3 separate regions of the Homo sapiens genome follow, and regions 1 and 3 are each linked to region 2. The links are contacts of gene promoters, found by promoter capture Hi-C in blood cells and fetal thymus (Javierre and others, 2016). All regions are on one chromosome and are shown on one strand. Each heading gives the region's core, a stretch centred on a gene start or on the middle of the fragment in contact. The rest is flanking DNA. Distances are from core to core; before and after follow the strand shown.

Evidence for each region. The method cuts DNA at HindIII sites, captures the fragments that hold promoters and counts their contacts. A CHiCAGO score of 5 or more calls a contact.
Region 1: a fragment that was not itself captured here is called in contact with the fragment with the promoter of RARRES1 in region 2 in 1 of 17 cell types (neutrophils); the score reaches 5.0 in neutrophils.
Region 3: a contact is called between a fragment that was not itself captured here and the fragment with the promoter of RARRES1 in region 2, in 2 of 17 cell types (erythroblasts and M0 macrophages). The highest score is 8.2, in erythroblasts.

Annotation. Positions count from the first base shown.
Region 1 is chr3:158,690,903-158,694,806 of GRCh38, reverse strand. It overlaps GFM1 (G elongation factor mitochondrial 1), which reads right to left. Exons shown (of 18, transcript NM_024996.7): 17 at 3,615-3,668; 18 at 1-3,471. The coding sequence ends at 3,340. Among named protein-coding and RNA genes, the nearest start is that of LXN, 20 kb to the right of the region's middle. The HindIII fragment of the contact is 2,959 bases long and covers 68-3,026 here.
Region 2 is chr3:158,729,947-158,733,752 of GRCh38, reverse strand. It overlaps RARRES1 (retinoic acid receptor responder 1), which reads left to right and starts at 1,296. Exons shown (of 6, transcript NM_206963.2): 1 at 1,296-1,613. The coding sequence starts at 1,338. LOC100287290 (a long non-coding RNA gene) reads right to left here and starts at 1,392. Exons shown (of 5, transcript NR_171782.1): 1 at 1,225-1,392. RefSeq lists an enhancer at 844-1,344 and a silencer at 1,422-1,481. The HindIII fragment of the contact is 14,465 bases long and covers 1-3,806 here.
Region 3 is chr3:158,776,785-158,781,074 of GRCh38, reverse strand. The region is part of intron 4 of LOC100287290 (a long non-coding RNA gene); the gene reads right to left. Among named protein-coding and RNA genes, the nearest start is that of MFSD1, 23 kb to the left of the region's middle. The HindIII fragment of the contact is 1,701 bases long and covers 1,919-3,619 here.

The DNA of each region.
Region 1 (3,904 bases), core at 298-2,797, 39 kb after region 2:
TTTCTTCCTACCTGAATTACGAATTTTTAGAAGTTGAACAAGTTCTTTTGAAAGTCAGTTGGAAGCTTATATAAATAGGAACACTTTTTTTTTTAAGGTAAAGTTATCAAGCCAGGCATGGTGGTGTGTGCCTCTTGTCCCAGCTACTCCAGAGGCTGAGGCCAGAGGACTGCTTGAGCTCATGAATTTGTGAGCAGCCTGGGAAACACAGCGAGACCCCATCTCTTTAAGTTCAGGGGTTGATGTGCAGGCTTGTTACATAGCTAAACTTGTGTCCTGGGGGTTTGTTGTACAGATTATTTCATCATCAAGGTATTAAGCCTAGTACCCATTAGTTATTTTTCCTGATCCTCTCCCTCCACCCACCCTCCATCCTCCAATAGGCCCCAGTGTGTGTTGTTCCCCTCTGTGTGTCCATGTGTTCTCATTATTTAGCTCCCACTTATAAGTGAGAACATGCAGTATTTGGTTTTCTTTTCCTATGTTAGTTTGATGAGGATAATGGCTTCCAGCTCCATCTATGTCCCTGCAAAGGACTTGATCTCATTCTTTTTTTATGGCTGCATAGTATTCCACAATGTGTATGTACCACATTTTCTTTATCCAGTCTATCAGTGATAGGCATTTAGGTTGATTCCATATCTTTGCCATTATGAACAGTTCTGCAATGAATGTGTGCATGCATGTGTCTTTATAATAGAATGATTTACGTTCCTTTGGGTATATAGTAATGGTATTGCTGAGTCAGATGGTTTTTGTCTTAGAAGACCCCATCTCTTAAAAAAAAAAACAGTTGTTAAACAAAAAAACCAAACTCTAATATCACACAAAAGAATACAATATGACACTCCTGAATTTCACAGATTTTTCATTTCATGTCTTGGGCTTAAGCGCAGTGCAGGCAATATTTCAGCGGTCTTTAACTTTGTCTGCATATTAGAATCACCCAAAAAAGTTTTTATCTTGATCCAGCCAAATAATCTAAATATCTGGGTGTAGGCCTAGGTATTTCTTTTTAAGGCTCCCCCAGTGATTTTTAAAGTACAGTGAGGGTTGGGAATCAGTACAATACTACCTAGTGCTGCTACTGTTGTCCAATACAAGGATGTAATATTTGAATTAGCCAACAATTATCCTTCTTGATAGTAGTATAAACAACCCTCACCTATGAATATTCTCATTAATTTTTTTCCATGCTACAGACTTTGGTTGGTATGTGATCTTTGCCAACTATAACTAATGACTTAGAAAGAGATGTGGGTTCTAGTCCTGATCTGTCCATTTGTGAACCTATTCTAATTACTCCCACCAGCTAGGCCTGAATCATTACCTATGAAATGCTGGTGTTGGATTAAATATCTAGGACCTTTTCTAACACTGTAACATTATAACCAGGATGTTTTACAAATTAAAAATAAGTAAGTTTTTTACTTATTTATCCAGTTTAGTTCCAGTAGTTGTGACTATTCTCAATAGCCATAGGAATCATGCTAAATTCCATGAAGGTACACAGAATGTATTTCCTCATTAGGAACAATATTCAAAGTTATTGTGAATGTCACAAGATGCTGAGGAAATGCCAAAGCAACCACATTTTTTCAGACCTGATGCTACTGTAGCAACAGACATTCATGGGGGAAATGCACTTGGTGAATAATTGTAATTAAAGTATCAATTAAAAAACTTAGGTTTTGTGGTCTCATTAAAGTTATTTACCTTATCTGTGCTTCTTCTATTACAAAATGGACATAATAATAGTACTTACTCTCGGGGTTGTGAGAATGAAATTATACAATGCATTTAAAGTATTTAGCAGCCAGGCATGGTGGTTCATGCCCATAATCCCAGCACTTTGGGAGGCTGGGGCAGGCAGAGAGCTTGAGCCCAGGAGTTTGAGACCAGCCTGGGCAATATGGCAAAACCCTATCTCTTCAAAAAATGCAAAAAATTAGCAGGGAGTGGTGGCGCACACCTGTAGTCCCACCTACTTAGGCAGCTGAGATGGGATAATTGCTTGAACCCAGGAAGCAGAGGTTGTAGTGAGCAGAGATAGTCCCTCTGCATTCCAGCCTGGGGGATAGAGTGAGACCCTACCACAAAAAAATAAAAATTAAAAAAAAAAAAGTATTTAGCAAATGCCTTGAAAACATGTGCTCAATACTTTTTAAAGATCTTTTTCCCCTAGAAACCTTAAAGTATAAAGCCACGTCTATAAGTCAAGAAAAGCAAAGGAATTTAAAATCAATTATTTTATTTCTACCATCAGGTAATGAAAAGGACTAGGATCCATCTATACCATCAGATGATTTTTGGATGAAGCAATTCTGAACCGGGTAATAGAACTGCTTGGGAAAGCCCAACTTTTTCTGGAAACAAAAGATTAACATTTGTCCCTTCATAATCTCAGTGAATACAATATACGATAAATTCCAAGGAATTCAAATTTAACTAGCATTCATTAGGTTGATGAAACTAACTCTATAAATTACATTTGATTTAGCTGTACAAAAACATTAAGATGAACACAAACAAGAATAGTATATGCAAGGGTCTACTTTTTACTTCACAATAGACCACAAGGAAGTAATACTTATACTCCTAAAACAGAGGCAGTTACAAATTTGCAGAAACCACAAACTGAAATAAACAGACATATATAAAACAGAGAGAAATTTGGCTAATATTTTAATATCCCAATGAAGAATCTGAAAAACACTCTCTATGAAGAACATACGGAATCCACTCTTCAACAGAAAAGCCTGCCCATTAATGACACTCCAAGAAGTGTCATGATATATGCGATTCACTTTCAAGTCTTCAGCAAACTAAAAATAGAGTTATGAGACTTAAACAGATAATAGACAGTGAAAGCAAATATGACAAAACAAATTATTATATGATAAACAACCCGTTAACAAAGGAAGGTAGATGGAAAGTATGTGGTTATTCTTTGCATTTTTTCAGCTTTTCTCTATGTTGAAAACTCTTATGATACAAAATTTGGAAATGAACATACATTCTAAGCTTAAAAGTATAACTGAAATTAGTCTCTTTTCCCCTTAAATATTAAACATATTTCAGTAATAATTATATTTTATTTGAGGATTTTCAATGAACTATAAAACCAATCAATAGAGTTGAGATAGACATAGAATTACCTTTGAATATAACAGAAGCTCCTGAATATGAACAAGAAGGGCTTCTTTTGAAGAAAGAAGAGCCCGCTTCCTGGGCTCAGAATTTCTTGTTTCAGCAGCCTGAATTTATTCCACTGGAATCCATCAAAGTATCAAAACCACGCAGATTCAATTAGAGTCAGTCAACTCACAGTAAGCAAAGTTAGTTCTTGGCTTTTCCTTTTTTAACAGGAAGTTGACCTGTAGCTTCCAAATACTTATTAATGACGTCTTCTTGTGTGGATGGTAAACATGGCTGATACCTGCTATACTCCATTGTGTATTCTCCCTTTCCCTAGGGATTTAAAAAAAAGAGAGGGTTTTTTGTTTGTTTGTTTGTTTTTTAAACTATCAAGTAAAAGTCATACAAGGTCAAGATTTTATAATATGATCATTCTGTAGGGTGGTCTTTTGAAGGGTAAGTTTAAATTTGCCTACCTCTGTGCATGACCTAAGTTCAGTGGAATAACCAAACATATCATTTAGAGGGACCTGAAAACAAACATAGTAGATATTTTAGCACTGCTTATTGGAAAATATTTGAGAAAAATACAGACGCATTTTAGCCATTTAATTCCTTTAGATTAAGATTTCTGCTCACTACTCTTAGTTTAAAATAATTAAAAGCCAAAGAGAAACATTTCTGTTTTATTCCAAGTGGAAATCCTATTTGAAAATTATTTCATTTGACAGTCGCAACCAGAAACCAAATCTTTCCACTTCGTGGA
Region 2 (3,806 bases), core at 47-2,546:
CACGTTTGGTGCAGGGGTAGACCCCTGAACAAAATGCAGGATGGAGAAATGGATGTTGGGAGTGCCTAGCAGTACCAGTTCTCCTCTCTCAGCCCTGGTTCTCCAGGACTTTTTCTCTTGCCTACGGTTTAAAAACAATGGCTATCTTAGCCCTTCACTGCCACCTGTCTAAAAAGAGTTGCCGCCGGGTACCGTGGCTCACGCCTGTAATCCCAGCACTTTGGGAGGCCCAGGCGGGCGGCTCACGAGGTCAGGAGTTTGAGACCAGCCTGACCAACATGGTGAAACCCCGTCTTTACTAAAAATACAAAAATTAGCCGGGCATGGTGGCTGTAGTCCCAGCTACTCGGGAGGCTGAGGTAGAATTGCTTGAACCTGGGAGGCGGAGGTTGCAGTGAGCCAAGATCGTGCCACTGCACTCCAGCCTGGGAGACAGAGCAAGACATGGTCTCAAAAAAAAAAAAAAAAAAAAGAGTTGCCAACACTTGCTGCCTCCATTCCCTGAAGCCCCATCCATGCCTCACCCCGCTGGAATCCGACTTCCATCCCCGGCCTTTAAATCTGCCTCGCACAGTGGTTATCAATGTATCAATGACCTACTTGCTTCTGAGACAAATGGGACTCTCAGGCCTTATCTTACCCTGCCTTGCTGCCCACTCCTCCCTCCTCGGCGCCTCTTCTGGGCAGGACCGGCAGGTGTTCAGGCCCGTCCCCAGCCCCTGGCTCCGGCGTCCCGGGCTCCCTGCCGGCATCCACCTTCACCTCCTCCCCAGCCCCAGCCCTCTGGCGACTTCTCCCACCTCCACAGTGGCTGTGCCACGAGGAGCCCCATCAATGCCCGCTGCGGCCTGCCCCTTTCTCCGCCGTCCCCTTTCACCTGCTGGGAAATCACAGCCCTAATGCTTGGAGAATCCAAGCAGTTTCCCTCTAAAACCCCAGGGTTGCGAAACCGCAGGGGAAACGCCAAGTCCCTGAGCTGGGCTAGGGACGCGGTACGAGGTAGCACGGGCGGGCCGCGATTCCTCGGGGAGGCGTCCCCATTGTCCCCCCAACCCCGACCCTCTCCCGCCGCGGCCTGGGCCAGAAGCACCCGGCCCTGCGCTGCGGAGGCGATGCCGCATCCTAGCACTAAGCCCGGGCAGCGGGGAGGGGCAGAGAGAACCCAGGGGCTGCGGGAAACGTGGAAAAGGAGTGGCCCCATGGGGACCCGGGCTCGCTACAGACCTTCGCCCTGGGGGCGGAGGGGAGGGGCCCACCACGGCCTTATTTCCGCGAGCGCCGGCACTGCCCGCTCCGAGCCCGTGTCTGTCGGGTGCCGAGCCAACTTTCCTGCGTCCATGCAGCCCCGCCGGCAACGGCTGCCTGCTCCCTGGTCCGGGCCCAGGGGCCCGCGCCCCACCGCCCCGCTGCTCGCGCTGCTGCTGTTGCTCGCCCCGGTGGCGGCGCCCGCGGGGTCCGGGGACCCCGACGACCCTGGGCAGCCTCAGGATGCTGGGGTCCCGCGCAGGCTCCTGCAGCAGGCGGCGCGCGCGGCGCTTCACTTCTTCAACTTCCGGTCCGGCTCGCCCAGCGCGCTACGAGTGCTGGCCGAGGTGCAGGAGGGCCGCGCGTGGGTGAGTGCGGAGCGACGCGCCGGGGCACGCGCCTGCCTGTCCGCGCACGGCGCTGGGAGGTGACACCTGGGTACGCGCGCCTGCCGGCCCAACGGATGGTCCGCCAGGGAAGGTGCAGTGCGCACGACGCCCGGGGAGATCCCAGCTGGGCCTGGCGCCCCTGAAGTATCCCAGGGCGTGGAAGGGGCCCCTTCGGTGCACAGCGTCTGCAGAAATCTGGCTCGTTCCTTCCAGCATTTATGAGGTCATAGGTTTTTCACAGGGCAGCGCTCTTGACTGCTCCCACACCTGGGAAAGAGATGCTTTGGGAAATTGAGGAACAGGCTGAAAGGGCAACATTTAATTTTGTCCGGAGGTACCCAGAGTTGGTTGCTATGGGGGTGCTTACTGTGCCTGCGCCCTACTAGTGGCTGCAGCCAAAGTTTTGGGCGGGATTTCCAAAATCTAAGCCAGTAGCCATACCATACCGCGGACGACTGTCTCTTGTTAATTGCAGTCCACCACGCTAGGGCTTCGGGGTAATGTGGTTGGAATTTACACGTAGGCCTGGGCAGAAACCTGCTAATGCTGGCGTCTGATTTGATCTAATTAGAAGTGAGTGAATCCGAGCCCAGTGTTCTATATGAACCGAATGAATGAGAACTTTGCAACCCGTTGTTTGGTTGCTGATTTCAAGGCATTGACTGTAGGAATTGTCTCGTATGTGTGAAGCTACTTTGCGTTCTTCATCCTATAGATTACAAAAGTTACAGAACTACACTAAGTCTGTCCCAAAAGCAAAGTTGCTCCTTCTACAACCTCCAGATATTCCACAAAGCCTGCAGACACACGGCCTCAAAGAATCTGGAATTGAGTATCGCATGTATTTAATAAATAGGTCGAGTTTTAAAGTGTAGCAGCAGGATTTTCATTTAACAGTGCCAAACGCCTGGAAGCAAACACCATTGGAAAGTCCTTCAAGAAGCTCAGCCTCGGTTCTTCAAAACTTATTCCTGTACCCGGCACGGCTGTATTTATTGAATGATTAAATCAAATTGTTCCTAGAAAAAGGCAACCTGGCCAGGCACGGTGGCTCACGCCTGTAATCCCAGCACTTTGGGAGGCCGAGACAGGTGGATCACCTGAGGTCGGGAGTTCGAGACCAGCCTGACCAACATGGAGAAACCCTGTCTCTACTAAAAATACAAAATTAGCTGGGTGTGGTGGCGCATGCCTGTAATCCCAGCTACTTGGGAGGCTGAGGCAGGAGAATCGCTTGAACTTGGGAGGCGGAGGTTGCGGTGAGCCGAGATTGCGCCACTGCACTCCAGCCTGGGTAACAAGAGCAAAACTCCCTCTCAAAATAAAATAAATAAAATAAAATAAAATAATAAAGAAAAAGGCAACCTGCTGGGGCATGGTGGCTCACGCCTGTAATCTCAGCACTTTGGGAGGCCGAGGTGGGCAAATCGCTTGAGCTCAGGAGTTGTAGACCAGTCTGGGTAACATGGCAAAGTACCATCTCTGCCAAAAATAAAAAAAATTAAAAATTAAAAAAAAATTAGCCGATGTGGTGGCGTGGGCCTGTGGTCCCAGCTACTCAGGAGGCTGAGATGGGAGGATTGCTTGAGCCCAGGACCCCAGGACCTGGAGGTTGCAGTGAGCAGAGAATGTGCCACTGCCCTCCAGCCTAGGCAACAGAGTGAGACCCTATGGGGAAAAAAAAGAGAGAGAAAGAGAGAGAGGAAGGAAGGAAGGAAGGAAGGAAGGAAGGAAGGAAGGAAGGAAGGAAGGAGCAACCTATTCTTGTCACCTGTCTTTGTTTTTTTTTTTTTTTTTTTGAGACAGAGTCTTGCTCTGTTGCCCAGGCTGGAGTGCAGCGCTGCGATCTCGGCTTACTGCAACCTCCGCCTACCAGGTTCAAGCGATTCTCCTGCCTCAGCCTCCTGAGTAGCTGGGATTACAGGCACGTGCCACCACGCCTGGCTAAGTTTTCTATTTCTAGTAGAGACAGGGTTTCACCATGTTGGGCAGGCTGTTCTCGAACTCCTGACCTCGTGATCTGGCCGCCTGGGTCTCCCAAAGTGCTGGGATTACAGGCATGAGCCACCGTGCCGGGCCATCTTGTCACCTGTCTTAACAATCCTTGCTGTCTGAGATACAAAAAAGTTCAGTTTTCCTAGTCCAACAGAGCAGTGAGATAACGGACCTTGA
Region 3 (4,290 bases), core at 1,520-4,019, 46 kb before region 2:
ATGTGACCTGATTCTGAGAAATGGCCCCATAGAAGTTTGATAAGGAGGTTTTGAAATGCTTTCCTTCCCGATGAAAAGAACTATGTGAGAAGAAAACTACTTTTTTTTTTCCATCTTGGACATAGTTGTATGAAGTGTGATGCCTGGAGTTATGACAGCCATCTTGCAACCATGAGAAGATAAGGCTGTGGATGAAAACCAATATACCAAGAATGGTTGTGTTAAAAGATGAAAAGAGCTTGGGTCTTGAATGTCATCACTGAACACTTCACCAGTTTTCAAACAGCCCTATTTCTGAACTCTTGTGATGTGAGATTACTAATGTCCTCATTATTTAAGCTACATTAGTAGTTGGATTTCTTGTCACATGTAGCTGAAAATATCCTAGCTAATACATCAACAAATAAATGAGTAAATAATAAAATTTTTAATTAAAAAGAAAAATTGAGCTCTATACATATTGTATGCATGTATCAAAATCTCACTTGTACTCTATAAATATGTTCAACTATTATGGATCCATTTTTTAAACATACAAATTTGAACTCTTTTTTTTTCTTTTTATGTTTCTGCCAGCAGGAAGTCAAAATCTGAACTCTTTTTGTGTTTATATGCATCCGTTTTTTAAATGACCTGATGAAATTAAAACTGTTGAGAAAAATTAAAAAAAAAAAAGAAATGAGTGGGCCGGGCGCAGTGGCTCACGCCTGTAATCCCAGCACTTTGGGAGGCAGAGGCAGATGGATCATGAGATCAGGAGATCGAGACCAACCTGACTAATATGGTGAAGCCCCGTCTCTACTAAAAATACAAAAAATTAGCCAGGCATGGTGGCGGGTGCCTGTAGTACCAGCTACTTGGGAGGCTGAGACAGGAGAATGGCGTGAACCTGGGAGGCAGAGCTTGCGGTGAGCTGAGATCACGCCACTGCACTCCAGCCTGGATGACACAGCAAGACCCCATCTCAAAAAAAAAAAAAAAAAAAAGAAAGGAGTAAATAGAAAATGAAAGTAGAGGATACAAACCTCTTGGAAAAGAGACCCAAGAGACGGCATGTAACTAGAAATGGCAGGAGAGACAAAAGATATATTCTGAGGAGAAACAGAAAGAGTGATAGCAAACATGCCAAAACATGTGAAGGTGATATTCCACAGGAGGTGGGTAAGGGTAGCTAGGAGCTGGGAGTATTAGCTTTAGAAACACAGAAGTAAAAACTCCTCCTTTAAAATCAAAAAGAGGCCGGGCGTGGTGGCTCACACTTGTAATCCCAGCACTTTGGGAGGCCAAGGTGGGTGGATCATTTGAGGTCAGGAGTTTGAGACCAGCCTGGCCAACATGGTGAAACCCCGTCTGTACTAAAAATACAAAAATTAGCCGGGCATGGTGGTGCTTGCCTGTAACCCCAGATACTCGGGAGGCTGAGGCACAAGAATCACTTGAACCTGGGAGATGGAGGTTGCAATAAGCCAAGATGGCGCCACTACACTCCAGTCCAGGTGACAGAGTGAGACCCTATCTCAATAAATAAATAAATAAAATCAAAAAGAAAGCCAGGAAGAGGAAAGATGATAGAACAGGTATCAGATAATACCAGTTTCTTTTACTAAACTCATCCAAGGATTACAGTAAATTAAGCAATTAAATAATGAGTGATGCTTAATTTTGACTTCAGAATGTCAATAGCATGACTTCTTCTCAAAGGACAGACGTATCTGTAAGTGTAAGAAAATTGGGAAACATGGCTACATTTGGAGCCAAGGAAGTTTTACTATACAATATTTAGAATAACTGACATTATTTCTCTTTTCTGTTGTTGAAAATGCAGCCCCTTCCATTATAAAACCATGTATCTCATGGAATGTGATTTTCCATCTCTATTTATCTCTATTTATCCTTCCAGCCCATTCATTTCTAAGCTTAAACTATCTATTGCTCACCCTGAGCACTTGGAGAATGTTACTTTTCCTCTTCAACTGATGGAATCCAGAACTGAAGGTAGCCAGAGATTAGCAATGAGGAAATGGAAGCAGACAGTAATGAAGTCTATGGCAAGTTAGTGAAGGTGTAAAACAGAATAATAAAAAATATTTTATTAATCAAAAAAGGTAAGAAAAAAAGGAAACATAAAACAAACAGGTCTACATATAGAAACCAATGGTAGACAGTAGAAATAAACTCAACTGTATCAGTTTTAGTATAAACTAACTAAATAACCCAAGTAAAAAGCCAAGACTGTAATACTGGATAAAAATATATGTTGCTTACAACAACCACATTTTAAGTATAAGAAATAGATTGAATGTGAGAGGATAGAAAAAGAGTCACCATGTAAATATTCACCACAAGGGAGCTGAGGTAGCTATCCTAATATCAGACAAAAGAGATTGTAATGCAAGAAGTGTTACCAAACATAAAGAGGGGCACTTTATGTGATCAGGACTGAATCCAACAGAAAGATATCACAGTCCTAAATCCAAACACACTCAATAACATAGCTTCAAAATACAAAAAGTAAGAAATTGACAGATCTAAATTCCACTGAGATTGGGAGGCCAAAGCAGGCGTATCACTTGAGGTCAGGAGTTTCAGACCAGCCTGGCCAACATGGTGAAACCCCATCTCTACCAAAATTACAAAAAATGAACTGGGCTTGGTGGTGCATGCCTGTAATCCCAGCTTCTCAAGAGGCTGAAGCAGGAGAATCACTTGAATCTGGGAGGCGGAGGTTGCAGTGAGCCGAGATCATGCCACTGCACTCCAGCCGGGGCAACAGAGAGACACTCCATCTCAAAAATAAATAAACAAATTCCACTGAGGGAAGTCATTGATAGAATTCAAGACAAGTCTGAAGAGTGAAACACTACTAATTCTGAACTCATTATCACAAAGCTCCTAACTTGTATGAGTCCTGACTGGCATGAAGTTGTCTCAGGGACTCAAACGGGGGCAGCAGTTTGATGGTTAGCTTCATCTAGCCCACTAGATCTCTTGCAAGGTGAGACCTCTAGAAAACATCTCCAGCACTTCATTTAAAGTATTATGGGTATATTATATCCTTAAGTAAGAAACGGTGCAGCCCATCTGCATTTTTCTAAATGAATTCCAATCAGGGTCAGCAGGACACCAGGGCCCTGTCCCAGACTTGAGATCCACCAGCTCCTGTTTTTGTCAAAAAATAAACATAATCTGGCAGCTGCATCTTGGAACCCGGCAGCTCAGGAGTCCTCATCAGACACTTAGAACAGCAAAGGTCTCCAGGATTATGGTCCAAAGGGTCATAAATATGTAGCGAATTTTAAAATGCTGGTTTCCTCCCCAGCAAGGAGTACATCACTCAGTTCTGCTGTGTCACCAGTAATATCTACCCCAAAAGCTACTATTTCAGGAGGACCATTTATCTCTCTCCATCCTGTCTGCGTAGCAGGCCATTGCCTGCCCCCACAACACTCACTGCCCCCTCTCAAAATCTCAGGCCATAATCTCTGCATTAGAATCACTTTCTCCAGAAACAGATCATTCTGCTACATTTGCCCAGCTTTAACCTTCAATTTCAAGTTTGCTTCAGAACCCACAACCCAGCAGTACACAGTGATTGTCTTTTCTTCTTCTACTGCAAGCTTTGTAGTCTAATATGTACCACAGGAAGAAAATACACAGGACAAGTTTGGTTAGTCTGAAATTTCCTTATTATCTCTAAGAGTGCTGTGGGTGGTTGAGGCACTCTGGAATGTCATGGGACTTTAGCTTACTGTAATTTACCAGTTGTGAAATATATCAGTTCCTTTTTCTTTTCTTAAAATTTTCTTTTATTAAAGAGTCAACAAATTTAGCACTTGATGGGTCCCCTTAAATGTAAATAGCCAGGTACCTTTAGAAGTCTAAAAGTAAAATGAAACTAACCAAATAGTTAGTGGCTTCTCTACCGGTGTTGGCCAAATTGGGAGAGACAGAGGACCTAGAAATTTATATCTTTCAATTATTGAATAGGAAAAATTAAAGAAATATAGCTATCATTTAATCCAGCTTCTGTCTCTCATAAAAAATGGATTCAGTGGCTTGTGCAAACCAAATGTCCCAGACCTCAGAAGCTCCAGAGACCCAAATCAGGCCCCACTTCCAGTCTGTAACACAGCCCCAGCCTGTAATGCTCCAACTTAGTTGGTCAAAAGAACTTAGTATTTTATCAGATTCTTCCCCCTCACGTCCAGCCCGCCAAATATCTCAAGGGAACCCAGGAGGTGACACGATCCACACTCCCTCCTAACAGCCACAACTGCCCCTCCAGCCCCC